Linked DNA regions of Homo sapiens: region 1 is linked to region 2. The links are contacts of gene promoters, found by promoter capture Hi-C in human tissues and cell types (Jung and others, 2019). All regions are on one chromosome and are shown on one strand. Each heading gives the region's core, a stretch centred on a gene start or on the middle of the fragment in contact. The rest is flanking DNA. Distances are from core to core; before and after follow the strand shown. Region 1 has its middle 250 kb from the start of LINC02063. Region 2 holds the start of IRX1 (iroquois homeobox 1).

Region 1 (7,887 bases), core at 783-3,282, 290 kb after region 2:
ATATTCAGATTTAGACATGGGAATTGCCTTATAAAATAACTCATGCCACTCAGTCTCATGCGTCCTGCTGCCTGGCCTGGCCCCCGTGATTCCCTCTGTTCTTCAGTGTCTCCCGCGGCTTGGTGGAGCCGTCACCCTCCCACCTGCATGGGCTGACCGGCCAGGCTTAGGCTTACAGCTCATCCTCCTTCTCTGCCACCAGGTCTGCAATCTCGGCGAGAACCTGTGCAATCTCGGTGAGGACTACCTCAGAGGACAAGTATCTGTCACAGGGGAGTGTTGATTTGAGGTTTCCACTAAAATACCTTTAAAGTAAAGTACAGGTAGCTAGAGTTATCTATAGGTATTTAAAAAAAAAAAAAGAAAAGAAAAGGTAAAATCACTCATGCTGTGCATGAGTTTGCTAGGACTGCCATAACAAAATACCACAATCTGGGGGGCTTGAACCACAGACATGCCTCGTCTCACAGTCCTGGAGGCGGGAGATCTGACATGGAGGTGTCAGAGGAGTGGTTTCTCCTGAGGCCTCGCACCCTGTCTTCTAGATGGCACCTTCCCCTCATTCCTTTACATACTTTTCCCTCTGCACCTGTCTGTGTCTTCATTTCCCCTTCTAATTAGGACACCAGTTATATCAGATTAGGGTCCATCCAGATGACCTCATTTTAACTTAATTACATCTTTAAAGACCCTATCCCCAAATATAGTCACATTCTGAGGTACTTGGGGTTGGGACTTCTACATAGTAATTGTGGGGACATGATTCAGCCCGTAACACCCTCCTACAAGAGTAAACACGAAGGTTCTGACCACTAAGAGGAACAACTGAATGATGTTTCTGGATAATCCCAATGCAGGCAGCAATTTATTTCTATTAAAAATTAATTGGAGAGCATAGAGGAATGAAACCACACTGTCATGTCAACTTGATGTTCCCTTAGACTAGCACTATTAAACAGATTCAACAGATTTAATAACAGATTGAATAGTGCTAGTCTAAGGATCATCACCAAATCCAACAAAGAAAGGCGTTGGTCATTTTTGCATAGAACATCCAATATCAGAGGGAGACATGAGTGGTAACCATATTATTAATATAGATTATTGATTAGTAACAAAATTCTGAAATTACTTCCAGTGTTTCAGTTGTCAGCTTAGTAATATTTCTGCTGGAGCCTGGATCAAAATAAATATTGCAAGATGAGGAGCTCACAAAATTAAAGAACTCTGTAGGTATTAACTTAATATTTTGCTTTTTCTAAGATTATTATTAAAGTATCCTCTGAGCTAAGGAGCCAACGTGTTCCTGATGATTTGCATGCTATCTCATGGCATCTGTGCTGTGGCTCACAGGGTGGACAGTGGCTCACAGGGTGGACAGTGGCTCACGGGGTGGACAGTGGCTCACGGGGTGGACAGTGGCTCACAGGGTGGACAGTGGCTCACAGGGTGGACAGCAGACAGGCCTTTCTTTACTAAAATGACCACTTCACCCTTAGATAATCAGGCCTCTCATTTCAGGGCTCTAAAAGCGAAACGTGGCTGTGCCCTTCCTCAGTCTCTACAGAGGGAAGACCAGAGCAAAGAGAAATTTCCATCCACAAAATGATGGCTGGTCACATTTAAATGTGAGACTTTGGACGTTCCTGGCTTCTGGGTCAAGATCCAGGACACATGTGATACTGCACAAATAAGACGCGGTAGTTTCATGATAAAATGAAAGGATATGTCTTTGCAGGGCCAGGGGTGTGTTGGGAGCTCCGGAAAGCACTCAGCCTGGCCCAGCCTGCCCAGCTGGGGCAGAGTCATGTTCACTCCCTCAAAACCCAGGGAAGAATAAGCCGGACTCCAAATGCGTTTTTCATAAGTGTTCCCGTGTGACAAGCACAAGTGACATACATATTCCAATGTTGATGCGTTTGGCCTGGGCCCTCTTTTATTTGTTTGACCAGGGAATGAAAGGCTGTTTCTCCTGGGACAGGAACAGCCCGTTGCCTTAGGCGAGGTGGGCTTGGGAGACGGTGAGGGGGTTCGCGCAAGGCCTTCTGCTCCCCCCACACAGGCGATGTCGGCAGTTTATGGGTGAAATGGTGGAGCTGGATGTATTCAGTGCCTAAGGCGTGCAACCCACGGTCCCATTGGCGATTGTCTCCTGTCTCTTTTGTCCCTCACATTTTTTGGTGCCATCATCAGCGATTTCCGGAAATTTGGTAATTCACAAGCTCTGAGTGGGGGCCAGTGATCACCTCCCACCTCATTCTTATTTCTGCCTTCACCGCCTATTCTAAATGTGTATAAAAGGATTCGGTATTTTTTTTTTTCAAAAAGGCTGTTGTACAGATAAAAGGCAGTGAAGAAGAAAACAATTTAAAACACCCCTGTCATTGTGGTTTGGGGTATTTACAGCTGCAGAGAAGGCTGCTTCCTGTCACCGTCTGAATGTATAAACTTAACTTGATCACCTTCTAAAGAATTTATGAATCATGGTTAATAATCAGCTGTAGGCACTTCTGAGGGTAGAATCACATTTTGAAGCTACAAAGGTCCCCTAAATAGCTCCTGGGAAATGACCCTGCATCCCATTAAGTATAAAAATTCACTACTGAGCACTTGATGTCAGAGGTAAACCACTTCAGTCTCAACTCACTTCAAAATGTCAAGGAGCCCCTCCACTTAAACACTTGATTAATCTGGAAGAACCTGACCAGACAGCTCCATCTCAGGAGAAGAAAAAAAAAAAAAAAGAATGTGTGTGTGTGTTTTTTTTCTTGAAGAACCTTTTTCTTTGCATTTAAAACACAAAAACCCTTTCTCTCTTTTCCACTCTTCCTCATGTTCGTTATTTTCTGTCGTTAAAACGGCTTTTATCTGGCTTTTATCTTTTCCATATGCCCATGGCCAACATTGCCTCCTCCTCCCACCGTACAAATCTGCCCAGGTGCAGGCTTTATCTGACTGGTGCCAGCTTCCCATTTTCCTATTTAAATGGATGATGTGAAATCAAAGTCAAATGTCAAGGTCAGGAAGAAGGTTTTTTGGTGCATTGTGATCTAAGACACAAATAGAACTCACCTAATAGAAGAAAGTCATAGAGGGTTCCAGGGCAAAGAAAGAAGAGGCATCCAAAACAAAATACAAATAAATCTGCACCTGTTGTCAATATTTACAACATATGTCTGCAGGAATTTGGACTCCTGATCTGATTTGTTCTTTATTATTATAAATAGTTATACATAATTATTATATGTATTACATATTATGCATAATATACTGACAATACAATGAACAGTGTATATCTTATATTTATTTTATTTTATTTTATTTTATTTTATTTATTTTATTTTATTTTATTTTTTGAGATAGAGTCTCTCTCTGTCGCCCAGGCTGGAGTGCAGTGGCGTGCTCTCAGCTCACTGCAAGCTCCGCCTCCCGGGTTCACGCCATTCTCCTGCCTCAGCCTCCGGAGTAGCTGGGACTACAGGTGCCCGCCACCACGCCTGGCTAATTTTTTTGTATTTTTAGTAGAGATGGGGTTTCACCGTGTTAGCCAGGATGGTCTCGATCTCCTGACCTCGTGATCCACCCAACTCAGCCTCCCAAAGTGCTGGGATTACAGGCGTGAGCCACTGCGCCCGGCCACCTTATATTTATTACAATTAATAAAGGATAATAATCCTTCAGGTATTTGTGATTTAAATTAAACTCGGTCTCCTAGATTTGCCAAAAAAGGCATCTCATTTGGAAAGTGTTAAAGAATCTCTGTAATTCCCATAATTATTACAACCATTGTATATCATGGTATTTCCACGGTAAACAGATCAGTTCCTGACTATTTATCAGATCATTCCAGGAATTATATTGTTCAAAGTTGTCTGGGCATGTGGGTGAAATGAAAATGGGGCAAATGCCAGAAACAGCATTTTTGATTCAGTTGTGTGGTTTATGTCATTTTTAATATAGTAATTTATTTCAGAACTCATAAGTGATAGCTGTGTCTTTGACCCGGAGATTAAATCTGCCATTTCAGGTGAAGTTCTGAGCCTTTGTCCAACATTATCATGTGAGGAGCTTGTGTTGCTCCCCTTGGGGGCAGATGGAGAAAGTTCCCGATGGTTCTTGGGCAGCTCCTCACACCTGCAGAGCTCCAGTCAGCCCATGTAGAGCAATGCCGCCTTGCAACATGAGCCTCAGGAACACGATGTAGGCAGCAAGCTTCCGCCACTGCACCAGCAAGACAGCAGGTCCCCAGGTGCTCCTTGGGGCCAGAGCTTGGCCCTTGTTTTACATCCCAAAGATAAAAACCTCACTTGACGGGAAAGGGCTATGTTATCAGGGACTCAAGAGCCCATCTCCAGGTGTGGGAGAGATTTTGCACAGTGCACCACACATTGGAAGCTGGGTCAAGTTTGCCAGCCAAGGGCTTCTTCCAGCCAGCAGCCTCCCAGCTGTTTTCACACACATCTCTAAAAATCCTGTAGTGAGTAGCTCTCAGTTCAAAGTGTTCTGGAGTTAGCCCTGTCCTGGGTTTGCTGGCAGGGATGAGGACCCTTAGGTGGAGAAATAAGGCTGACACACAGGTTAGCACCCATAAAATGCAGAATCCATCTGGGGGCCCAGAGCCAGCTGCTAAAAGAAGTTGATCTTGGATGTGGACCCTGAGGTGGGGACCCAGAGGCGAGCATCCGTGTGCTGCCAGCTGCTAGACCTTGGGTTCCCTCGGCCTCCTCAGACCCCGGAGGAAGGAAGACCTCACTCTGCTCATTCCACTGCCTGCAGAGCCAGTCCCCACAGTCTGTCCCTGTGAGCAGCTATGGGGGCTGCCCAAATTGTGAATGACTGAAATGAAGCCACCAGCCTGGCCACTGGGTACTGGGTACTTTGCAGACCAGAGATGGCTCGATACCAGGCCATGGTGTCTCTTGGGCTTCGGCCACTCTGGTCTCTGGGATCTGTTGTTTCCACATCCTTCTCTCTTTGCACCCATGCTGGGGCTACAGGTATTAAAAAACTGTGTTCTGTTAGTCTGCAGTGGGTCAAGCTCAAAAATGAAAATGGCTTTTTACAAATCCACCTGTTTGAGCGGATACACGCTGCTGAGATGTGAAGGGTTTGGGACTTTCTGTGTAGTGGCTATGGAATTTTATTAACATGAAAGGACAGAAATCAGGTTTGAGTGTGATTTATGTAGCAGCAGCTGTAGTATTCTTTTCATTGGAGTTTAAATAGGTTATAAAAACGTGATGGGGCACTGAGGTTACCAGTGAGTCATTCTCTGGCTTATTAGCAACAGCACAATTAATAGAGACAGACGACTTTCCCTTGACAAGGGGCTTTTCTGCCCCAGTGAGCATTTAAAAGGCACAATTCTGGCTTTGTAAAATACCAACTTCCACGCAGGGAGGCAGGATGCTGTCCTTGTCCCTGCACTAAAGGGAACCGAAATGTCACCTTCATCATGAAACAAATAATCCATCCTTCTCTCATTAAGATAAAACCCAATGTGGTTGAATTGTAACAGTAGGCTGGAGTGCAAGAAATACGGTCGCACATTTTCACCATCATGATGAGGACCCCTCTCCTGCCACGGTACTGACAATCCTACTGGAACCTCAAAACCTTTCAGCAGCTCCAACAGCCTAGCCACCTCCACCGCTGCAGGCTCTACTCTTGGGATTGCAGCTGCAAGCTTCCTACTGCTCCCCTCTGAGAGAATCACGTGGCACCATCCCAACCTGAGAGGCTCTGAGACCCGGAATGTTCACTGGAAAATGGCTAGAACATACAGGACCACAGAGCTCTGGCACAAGACCTCTGCCTCCATCTGCCATGAGCCAAAACACAGCCTCTGCAGCAATTGGCCCAGAATAGTCAGCACGTAATCAATGACTACCAGTATCCCTCATGTTACCTCCACTTTCAACTCAGGACCAGCCTGAGGAAACCAAATTTGCTCCCCTAACCAATCTCAAAGGATACCTGGCTTCAAGTGCGCCTCCCCCCAGCTTCTCCAGGCCAACAGCCTCCATCAGGGCCCACCTGAGGCTTCCCTTGCCATCAAGAAGCTTCACCACTCCATATGAGTCTCTGCTGAAATGCGAGTGATGGTGGCTGACTCCCCTGCCCTGGCACGCTCTGAGTAAATCCCTCCATTCGTTCCCATGTGGGCTGCCGTTGGGCAGTCATTCAGCAGTGCATGGTAAGCACAGACTGGCTGCTCAGTGCTGCTGTAGGTGCTGGTGCCAAGTGTAGCATCGCTGAGACTCAACTGATCTCGTACCCACTGCTCTTGCACTTCAGGGCAAATTGTACAGAGGCAGCGTCCACCCTGGGGCTGGAATGCTCAGACTCAGGGGTGTTGGTCCGTGGTGTAGATGACAGGCGTGCCTAGTCTGAGCCACCTACCACCATGAGAAATAAGTGCCACCTGGAAAACGAATCGTCCCACCTCCACCCACGACGGACAATGCCAGCCCATGCCGCTCTGTTGTCAGGGTCTTCATGACTTGGACTGGAAGATGTACCATCTCCTGCTTTTGTAATAATGCAGAAAGAAGCCTCTGCCCTATTCCTTCCAGAAGACAGCAGCCGTGCCCTGGAAGGCAGGTAGCCACTAGCCCTTCAGGAGCTTTAGAGGCCGTGCCCTTCAGGTCCTGGGGTGCAGGGCAGGCTACAACCTCCCACTGTTGAGGCCTGCACCACCTCAGGATGTTCACCTCCCTGAGGACATGACCCTAGAATCTACTAGGATCTCCATGCCCTGTGACCTTGCTAGATTGGAAATAAGTCTGTGTTCCTCTGAGAGCAAGGCCTGAGACCATGTTAACATTTTACAGTTGTATTGTGTTGTTGACCCAAATTATTTGAGGCTAACCAAAATCAGGAGTTGTTTTTCTCATGAGGTTCAAGTTCCCAATCTTCGACCTGTGAAGCTCAGTGGGGGGCTTCCTGTTTCCTAACAGCTGCCTGCTGTTGTGTGTTGAGGTCAGCTCTCCACTTCAAGCTGTGAAGCTGCCCCTGGGAGGAGGGGGAGTGGAAGCGAGTCAGCTCCCCTAAAGGACAACGCCTGCAGAAAGGTGTGTGGGGTCCTGGGTGCCACACAACTATGCCAAACTTAAGGGAATGAACTGTGCACACTCTTTAGAAGAGGGACTTATGTTTGCATGCTTTATGTAAAGAACTCATTAAGTCAATATTAGTACACAGTGTCTTAGAGAAAATAAAAATCATATAATGGATTATGTAAAATAGCAGAACTGGGCCACGACCTCACTGCTTGAGTAGTTATGATTTTTGTGAAGATGCTGCATTGACTGAATTTTGACCAACGGGTCATGAATTAAAGTAGGTAATGAGAGCTAGTTCCCTCATTATACCCTGTTCATACCCTATTACTGTAGGTATCATTGATAGAATAATATTCAGCTATTGGAAAAATATTCATGACTTTTGAGTAAAAGTAAAATTAGAAGGAAATGTTGTCTTAGTCACCTTGGGCTACCATAACAGAATATCATAGACTGGAGCTTAAATAACAGAAAAGTATTTTCTGACAGTGGTGGGAACTGGAAGTCTGTGATCAGGGTGCTAGCATGGACAGGCTCTGATGAGCTCTCTATTCCTGGCTTGTAGACCGTCACCTCCACACTGTGTCCTGACTTGGTGGAGAGAGAAATCTCTGGGGATTTTTCTTAAAAGGGCACTAATCCTCTCATGAGGGTCCTGCTCTCATGACCTCATGTGACCCTGATAGCCTCCCAAAGTTCCCAACTCCAAATACTATTCCACTGGGGATTAGAGCTTCAACATACAAACTCAAGGGAAACATGACAATTCCATCCAGAGCCAATGTATACCACAAAAATGCACTCGAATACAGAAGACAATGGG
Region 2 (7,535 bases), core at 802-3,301:
TCATTCTCCAGGTCACTCAAGAGGGCGTATCTCCCCTGTCAACCTGAAATGTGACACTGTAGTTTGCTGAACAGGACAGGGGTGGGTGGGACTGGCCCACTTCTCACACAGTGAGTCACAGGCAATGGATGGATTTGTTTTGGGTATAGAGGAGAGGAGGTTGAAGATCGGAAATCTGTCTTAGGGTTAGAAGGTGTCTGGTGGTAGGCTGGGGAACAGGAAAAAGCTGCAGTTAGGGGCTTCCCGGATTTGTGTCACCAAGAATCCACTCCCCACCAACCCTCGGCGTCCCCACAAACCCAGCCCGGAATCTATGTAAAAGCAGGAAAGGAACCCTGGAGGTTGTAGGCGGATCCTGGAGTGTGGAGGGGCGAATTGAGCGCGGGAAGCAGCATGACTAGCAAGACAATCTGACTCAGAGCAGGGAAAAATCAAGCCCGATGTCGGAGCTGGTTATTAGTAATTACTACCATCACGGGCATTATTGTTGCTAATTATAGGCGATGTCTCAGTGTCTGTCCTCAGGCCCGGAAAACCGGAGCCCCTCCTGATGCTGCTGAAGTCCCTGGGCCTCGAGGCTCCGTGAAGAGAGGGAAGCGAGGCAGGGGGTGAAGGGACCGCCTGGCCGGTGTCCAGGATACGGGTGGCTCAAACCACCAGCAGAACAGCATGCCGACTCTGGCCCGATGGCCGCCTTCATCCCGTAGCCCCAACCCGGCCTAAAGCCGAGAAGACGCCAGAGTGCGCTGCTGAAATTCCCGCGGAGTCCGGTGTGCTGGAGAGCCGCAGCGGGGTGAACTCCCGGCCCCGTCTCTGCGTAGGAGGTGGTTCGCAAAGTGGCCCCGGGAGCCGGGACTGGTACCCGGTTCCCCACGGCACCGTCCGGAGCTCTCCAGCCACGAGGCGCAGAAGTGGCCTGCCAGCGCCTTCCCAGGCTCAGGGAGGCGAGGAGGCCCGTGCACTTGGCATCTTCTCCCGGGAGCCGCACGGCCAGGGCCGCGGCGAAACGGAGCCCATCTCAAGTGCGCCGCGCCTGGCCGCGTCCTGTAGCCCGACGAGGCTGAGGATGGAGAGGGGAGACGCAGGGAGAAGAGGGACGCGGGACTTGGACCCAAGAGGCCGCTCCGTTGCCGGTCTGGCGGCGGCGCCGACTCGGGTTCGCGCGTTCCACACAAGTTTCCTGTCTGCCTCTGCACACCTGGTGGACAAACCGGGCGTCCAGGCCACACCGTCTTCCCCCTTCGCGGGGGCGCGGGGGATGTTTCCCTCCGGCTGCCAGGGGGCTTTCTGGGTGAAGAGAAAGCCCCTCCCCCCGCGTCTCCCCCACCCCTCCCTCCGAGAACCCGCGGCGCCGACTGCGCCTGCTTCCCCCGAGCTGGCGACTTCTCCGCGGGATTTGCCCTCGCTCAAAGTTTGCACAATTGAAAGAGCCCGCAGAGCTCGGCCGCTCCCCGCTTCCCCAAGGGCGGCGAGGCCGGTCATTGGCAGACGATCGGTTACTACCCAGTAGGGGCCCACGGGAACCCGCATCTGGAGTCGGGGGTGTCACGCCACGCCGGTTCAGTGGCTCGCGGAGAGCGTCCGGGTGCACTTCTGCCAAAGATGTCCCCTGGAGGCCCCGGCCGCGCGGGACTCGGGGGAGAGGCCGCTCCCCCCTCGCTGTCACCAGCGTCCAGGCCGCCGGCCCCTTCCCCGCTGCCCAAACAGTAGAAAAGCAGGCGCCAAGTTGTTTTTGTTAAAAAGGGGACACACCTCGGCCGCGAAACTGCAAACCCGGTGTCAGACAGCTGTAAACCCGTGTCGACAGGTTGTCAGACAGCTGCGGGGGCTGGTCGGGAAGGAGCCCACGGCCTCCGGGCCCACACCCCGCCGCCCCGACGCGCGCGCCCACCGCGAGAGTAGCTGGCCGGGCCGGCACGGGGCACCACGTGCTCGCGGGAGGGGCGGGAGCGGCCGGCGAGGGCGGGCGGGAGGCAGGGAGGGGGCGGGAGGGGAGCCAGGGGCGGGGCCTGCGCTCAAGGGGATGCCAATCAAAGCATCAACTTCAAATTGTGTCTGAAAGCCCCGCCGCCGAGCGGAGGGCGGCCGCCGCAGTCGGCGCGCGATTGCGGATCCGGGCGCAGCCGGGAGCCGGGCGCCTGCGAGCACCGGGCAGAGGAGCCGCGACCGGCCTCCATCTCCCGGCCCGCCCGAGCGCGCCCGGCCGGCCGCCCGCTCCTCCCTAGACCCCTCGCGGCGCCCCCTGCAACCCCCTCCGGCCGGCCTCCGCCTCCCTCCCCGCGCCTTTAATACTCGCCCGCTGCGGCGGTCGCCGAGTCCGCGGACATGTCCTTCCCGCAGCTGGGCTACCCGCAGTACCTGAGCGCCGCGGGGCCGGGCGCCTACGGCGGCGAGCGCCCGGGGGTGCTGGCCGCGGCCGCTGCGGCGGCTGCCGCCGCCTCGTCGGGCCGACCGGGGGCCGCGGAGCTGGGCGGCGGGGCAGGCGCGGCTGCAGTCACCTCGGTGCTGGGCATGTACGCGGCGGCGGGGCCGTACGCGGGCGCGCCCAACTACAGCGCCTTCCTGCCCTACGCCGCGGATCTCAGCCTCTTCTCGCAGATGGTGAGTGCGCCCGGCCTCCCCCGCTTCTCCTCTGTCTCACCCGCGCCAGGGCAAGGGTGGCGGGTCGCCCGGGAGGGAGAGACTACGGGTGGACCTGGTCCGGAAGAGGAACTAGAAAGGTCCGGGGGCAGGTTCCCGGTGGCCGAGGCCGCGGCCCCCGGGGACGCAAGAGGGCTGGGAGGCCGGGCGGGTGACGGCTGGGCCATCTCGGCCTGGGAAAGCGGAAGGCCCGGGCCAGGGAGCGGGTAGCGAGTGAATTCAGAGAGGCCGCAGAAGCAGGCCCGTGGAGCGGTGCCCGCGCTGGAGGTCGGGGGCAAACTCGCCTGGCTCGGCCAGGGCGCCCGGGCAGGCCCACGGGGTTCCTGCAGGTCGGCCCGGCGTAGCGTAGCAGGACTTCCCTTCCTGGCCGCGGGTTCCACTCGCGCGGCCTCTTTAGTTTTCGAACCGAGTCTGGAAAACTTGGTTTTCTCCCTCTTTAGCAGCTCCGAGATAGTTGTATCCGAGTTTGCCAGACAGACCCCTTCTAAGCCTGGTAGAGTCAATCAAAATAATCTTAACAATAGAGGTCCAAAGGGATGGAGAGGTCTCTCCACGGCGTGAGTGCGAATTTGAGATTAAACAAAAATTAAGTTGCAGTAATGTGCTGGTGTCTGAAACGGTGTTTGATTTTACTTTTGTAAGTTGCCCAAGTTTTCATTTCATTTGCACAGAAAGAAAAGCACTTTTCTTCCTGCGTTACATAATGGAGGATTAAAGAAAACAGTGTCCCTTGGCTTAAAACAAATGGTGTCCTCTTAGTCTCCCGTCCCAGTGGGCGTTAGATGTCGGGGCAGGCGGCTGCACACTTAATTCTCCGCGGGGGCATTGGCCTGTCTGCCGGTCCAAATCATCCATTTTCCTTGGTCTGACTGCAAGGTCGGTGCTTAAACTTCGGACGGCTGGTGAATTGTGCGGCGGGCGCGGGGCCCTGGGAGGCAGCCCCCTCCTGGGTCGCTGCCCGCGGGATAAAGCAATTTCCAAGCACCCGCGATATCTCCCCGCTCCCCGCAGGAGAAGCGGGGAGTAAACGCCCCTCAAGTGTGCACAAGCAAAGAGCGGGTTTCCCTGTAACTTTTCTTGTAGTTTTGAAAGAAAGCGGCCCGGCTGCCTTTCAGGTCTCTTACTATCGAAAAAGATCAGCCCCCATTTTGTTCAGGCGGCGGGGAGGCCGGGACGCGATGAGAGATTTACAAGGTGTCCTTTCAAAAAGAATTCCCAGTGGAGACGAGGCTGAAACGTCTTCTTTACAATTACAACCAAAATAATTAGAAAAGCGCAAAGTACATTTTGGAACGATTGGGCAAAAACGAAATCTAGCCGCAGAAATGTTTTCTCTGCGGCCTCAGTCACCAAACTAATTAGTCCAAGAAATCTTCTGGTCTTTACAACTTTCTCAGAGTCCGGAACTCCCTTTGCTAACATTGCAACTAGACCATTTTTTCAGAGGATGAATATTTTTTACAGAAATTGCGAATGCAGTTGTGTGCCATTTGGGAACCCTGCCTGTGTTTGCGGGGGAGGGAGAGAGCTTCAGTGTGAGGACCTGCACCCTTTGTGGAGAGCTGGGGAAGGGAGATGTTTGCTGTTCTGAGTTGTTTTTCCCACCTAGAGGGATAATATGTAAAAATTATTCCCACCCAAAAGGTGTGTGTTTCTCCAGCTCTCCCACTGGTTCTGAGAGAGTAAACTCAAACCCAAACCCTGATTCTAGGCCTAGGTTTCCAAGCCATTATAATTGGGTGTTTGGAAGTCAAAAGATAAAATTGTATTTGAATGTCTGTCTGCGCAATTTATGGTAATAATGAGGCCTAATGAGGTTGTTAGAAAGATAAAATGTTATTTACCAAAAAACCTGATGGGATAATTTGACTTGCTGTGTTTTACTACTGATTATAAAAAGAATATCGATTGCAAATAAATCAGCGCCTCTAAATGCCTGCAAACAGCTAGTGTTTGCTCCCTCCAGATCAAAGTCAAACTTAAGAGATGAAGTAACTGAGAAGAGGCCTAGGATACTGAACCGGTTCCCCTCCTGGCCGCCGGTGGCTCCCAGCCCTTGCGTTAATATTTTACAGGCTAAGCCTTCCTTTTGTATTAAAAAAAAAAATGGTGTTTTTGTTATTGTTGTCGATGATGGCCGGGATTAAAATTTTAAATTACCTGTCACCTCTAAAGACCTTTTAATGTGGGTAAACCATTATATGCAGATTAATTTGGAAGGCAAAGGACTGTGCTTTCGTTTTAAATTGCTGGCGGATTTAGACCGGTAGAAAACCCGGGATGGTTTATTTTGATTGAGCCCCCTCTGGGTGGCAGAGAGGAGGCTTGGGCTCTGGGCCCTTTACGTTTGGAGAAATGGCTTTATCAGCTCAGTTGAAAGGTTTTTCCCTCTAGCTAGTGAAAGATAAACTTGGAAATGCAGGTTTCTCCAGCGGTTGGTGGTGGGGACAGGGGTCGCCTAGGGAACTTGCAGGGGCCGCGGCCTCTGTTGTGCTCTTCTGGAGAGTGCACTGTTTGTGGAACTTTTCTAGAGTGGCAAAAACGATCTCCACTGTCGGTGAAAGGGCAGTTCCTGAAGTCAGCTCATGGTCCTGGCTCCCCTTCTCCCCAGCAGTGAACTGGGGGTGACTTCCTGATCTGCCCAGCACAGGAGAGCCCCGCAAAGCGCCTGGGAGGCCCTCGAGTCCATTGAAGCGGCTGCTTCCCACTCTCCCGTCTTGGGGACTCATGTCTCTCTCTCTCTCTCCCTTTCTCTCTCCACTTCCCTCCTCTCTCTCCTCGATGGATCTGCCCTGTGGCTTCAGGGCTCGCAGTATGAACTGAAGGACAACCCTGGGGTGCACCCCGCCACCTTCGCAGCCCACACGGCGCCGGCTTATTACCCCTACGGCCAGTTCCAATACGGGGACCCCGGGCGGCCCAAGAACGCCACCCGCGAGAGCACCAGCACGCTCAAGGCCTGGCTCAACGAGCACCGCAAGAATCCCTACCCCACCAAGGGCGAGAAGATCATGCTGGCCATCATCACCAAGATGACCCTCACGCAGGTCTCCACCTGGTTCGCCAACGCGCGCCGGCGCCTCAAGAAGGAGAACAAGGTGACATGGGGAGCGCGCAGCAAGGACCAGGAAGATGGAGCGCTCTTCGGCAGCGACACCGAGGGCGACCCGGAGAAGGCCGAGGACGACGAGGAGATCGACCTGGAAAGCATCGACATTGACAAGATCGACGAGCACGATGGCGACCAGAGCAACGAGGATGACGAGGACAAGGCCGAGGCTCCGCACGCGCCCGCAGCCCCTTCTGCTCTTGCCCGGGACCAAGGCTCGCCGCTGGCAGCAGCCGACGTTCTCAAGCCCCAGGACTCGCCCTTGGGCCTGGCAAAGGAGGCCCCAGAGCCGGGCAGCACGCGCCTGCTGAGCCCCGGCGCTGCAGCGGGCGGCCTGCAGGGTGCGCCGCACGGCAAGCCCAAGATCTGGTCGCTGGCGGAGACAGCCACGAGCCCCGACGGTGCGCCCAAGGCTTCGCCACCACCACCCGCGGGCCACCCCGGCGCGCACGGGCCCTCCGCCGGGGCGCCGCTGCAACACCCCGCCTTCCTGCCTAGCCACGGACTGTACACCTGCCACATCGGCAAGTTCTCCAACTGGACCAACAGCGCATTCCTCGCACAGGGCTCCCTGCTCAACATGCGCTCCTTCCTGGGCGTTGGCGCTCCCCACGCCGCGCCCCATGGCCCTCACCTTCCTGCACCTCCACCACCGCAGCCGCCGGTCGCTATTGCCCCGGGGGCACTCAATGGAGACAAGGCCTCGGTCCGCAGCAGCCCCACGCTCCCAGGTACAGCTCCAGGCCGCGTCCACCTGTCCCCTAGCTGGGAATGCAGAGGCCTGGCTAGGTGTGGTAGCGTGGGGTGCAGCATGAGCCGGGAGGGTACCAGGCAGTGGCCGCTGAGCCCTGGGGCTGCGCTTAATCCCTGCTTCAATTTAGAAAGCCAGACAAGGCCCTAGGGCTCTCCCAAGAGAGCTTTGCCCTACCGGCGGGCCTGCTACGGGGTGGTGGTGGGGTGAGGGGTGACGTTTTTCGGCGAATCTGCCTGGGCAGCCGGCAGAAGTTGGTGGGAAGGAGGCCTGGGACCTCTCCCGCCCGTCTCTCCGTCCTAACTCTGCCTCTTCCGATCTCTCGCAGAGAGAGACCTCGTCCCCAGGCCAGATTCGCCGGCACAGCAGTTAAAGTCGCCCTTCCAGCCGGTACGCGACAAGTGAGTGCTGTTTGCTTTTGCTATGGGAGAAGGCGGTGGGGAGGGGGGAGGAGGAGTGGTCGGGACCCGGGCGGAGCTGGCTGGGTGGCGGTGGGGGTCGCGCAGTCCTAGTTGAAGGAGCGCTCCCCGCCAGCCCTGGGCGCCGGGCGAGCCGAGGAGACTGGAGTTTCTCCCCAGCCGGGAGCCGCGCTGGCTGTCGACCCCGCCCCCAGGGCTCCGCTACTGGAACCGGCGTCGCCCGGCGCTGCGTCCCCCACTCACAGTGCCCCTGTCTTCTTGTCTCGCTGTGTTTCCCATGCAGCTCTCTGGCCCCGCAGGAGGGAACGCCGCGGATCCTAGCAGCCCTCCCGTCCGCCTGATTAAGGGTCTTCTTTTACTTTTGCGGGGGGGAGGGGGGAGGAGTTGGGGAGGGAGGGAATGTGGGAGGAATTAAGACAAATATTTCAGACTGGTGTAAAGGACAAATATGACAACGACGTCAAGGACTCGCATCCGTCGCTTTCTGCAGAAAGGGGCTTCTTCGGTCCCGAGCTCGCGTCCAGGTGGCCAGGCCTCTGCCGGCGGCTCCAGTGGCTGCGATTATCGGGTTCGGTAAATGCCCCCACGTGCTTGTGTCTCTTTCCCCCCTTTTCTG

What was found. Contacts are between HindIII fragments. The study calls those that stand out against the background at their distance.
Region 1: a contact is called between a fragment that was not itself captured here and the fragment with the promoter of IRX1 in region 2, in 2 of the 25 tissues and cell types used here (H1 embryonic stem cells and spleen).

What each region holds. Positions count from the first base shown.
Region 1 is chr5:3,884,341-3,892,227 of GRCh38, forward strand. No RefSeq gene overlaps it. Among named protein-coding and RNA genes, the nearest start is that of LINC02063, 250 kb to the right of the region's middle. RefSeq lists an enhancer at 5,877-6,511. The HindIII fragment of the contact is 5,833 bases long and covers 1-4,949 here.
Region 2 is chr5:3,593,781-3,601,315 of GRCh38, forward strand. IRX1 (iroquois homeobox 1) reads left to right here and starts at 2,052. Exons shown (of 4, transcript NM_024337.4): 1 at 2,052-2,601; 2 at 5,445-6,480; 3 at 6,829-6,901; 4 at 7,203-7,535. The coding sequence starts at 2,326. The coding sequence ends at 7,260. RefSeq lists a silencer at 1,755-2,049 and enhancers at 4,915-5,577, 5,578-6,239, 6,903-7,535. The HindIII fragment of the contact is 23,247 bases long and covers 1-7,535 here.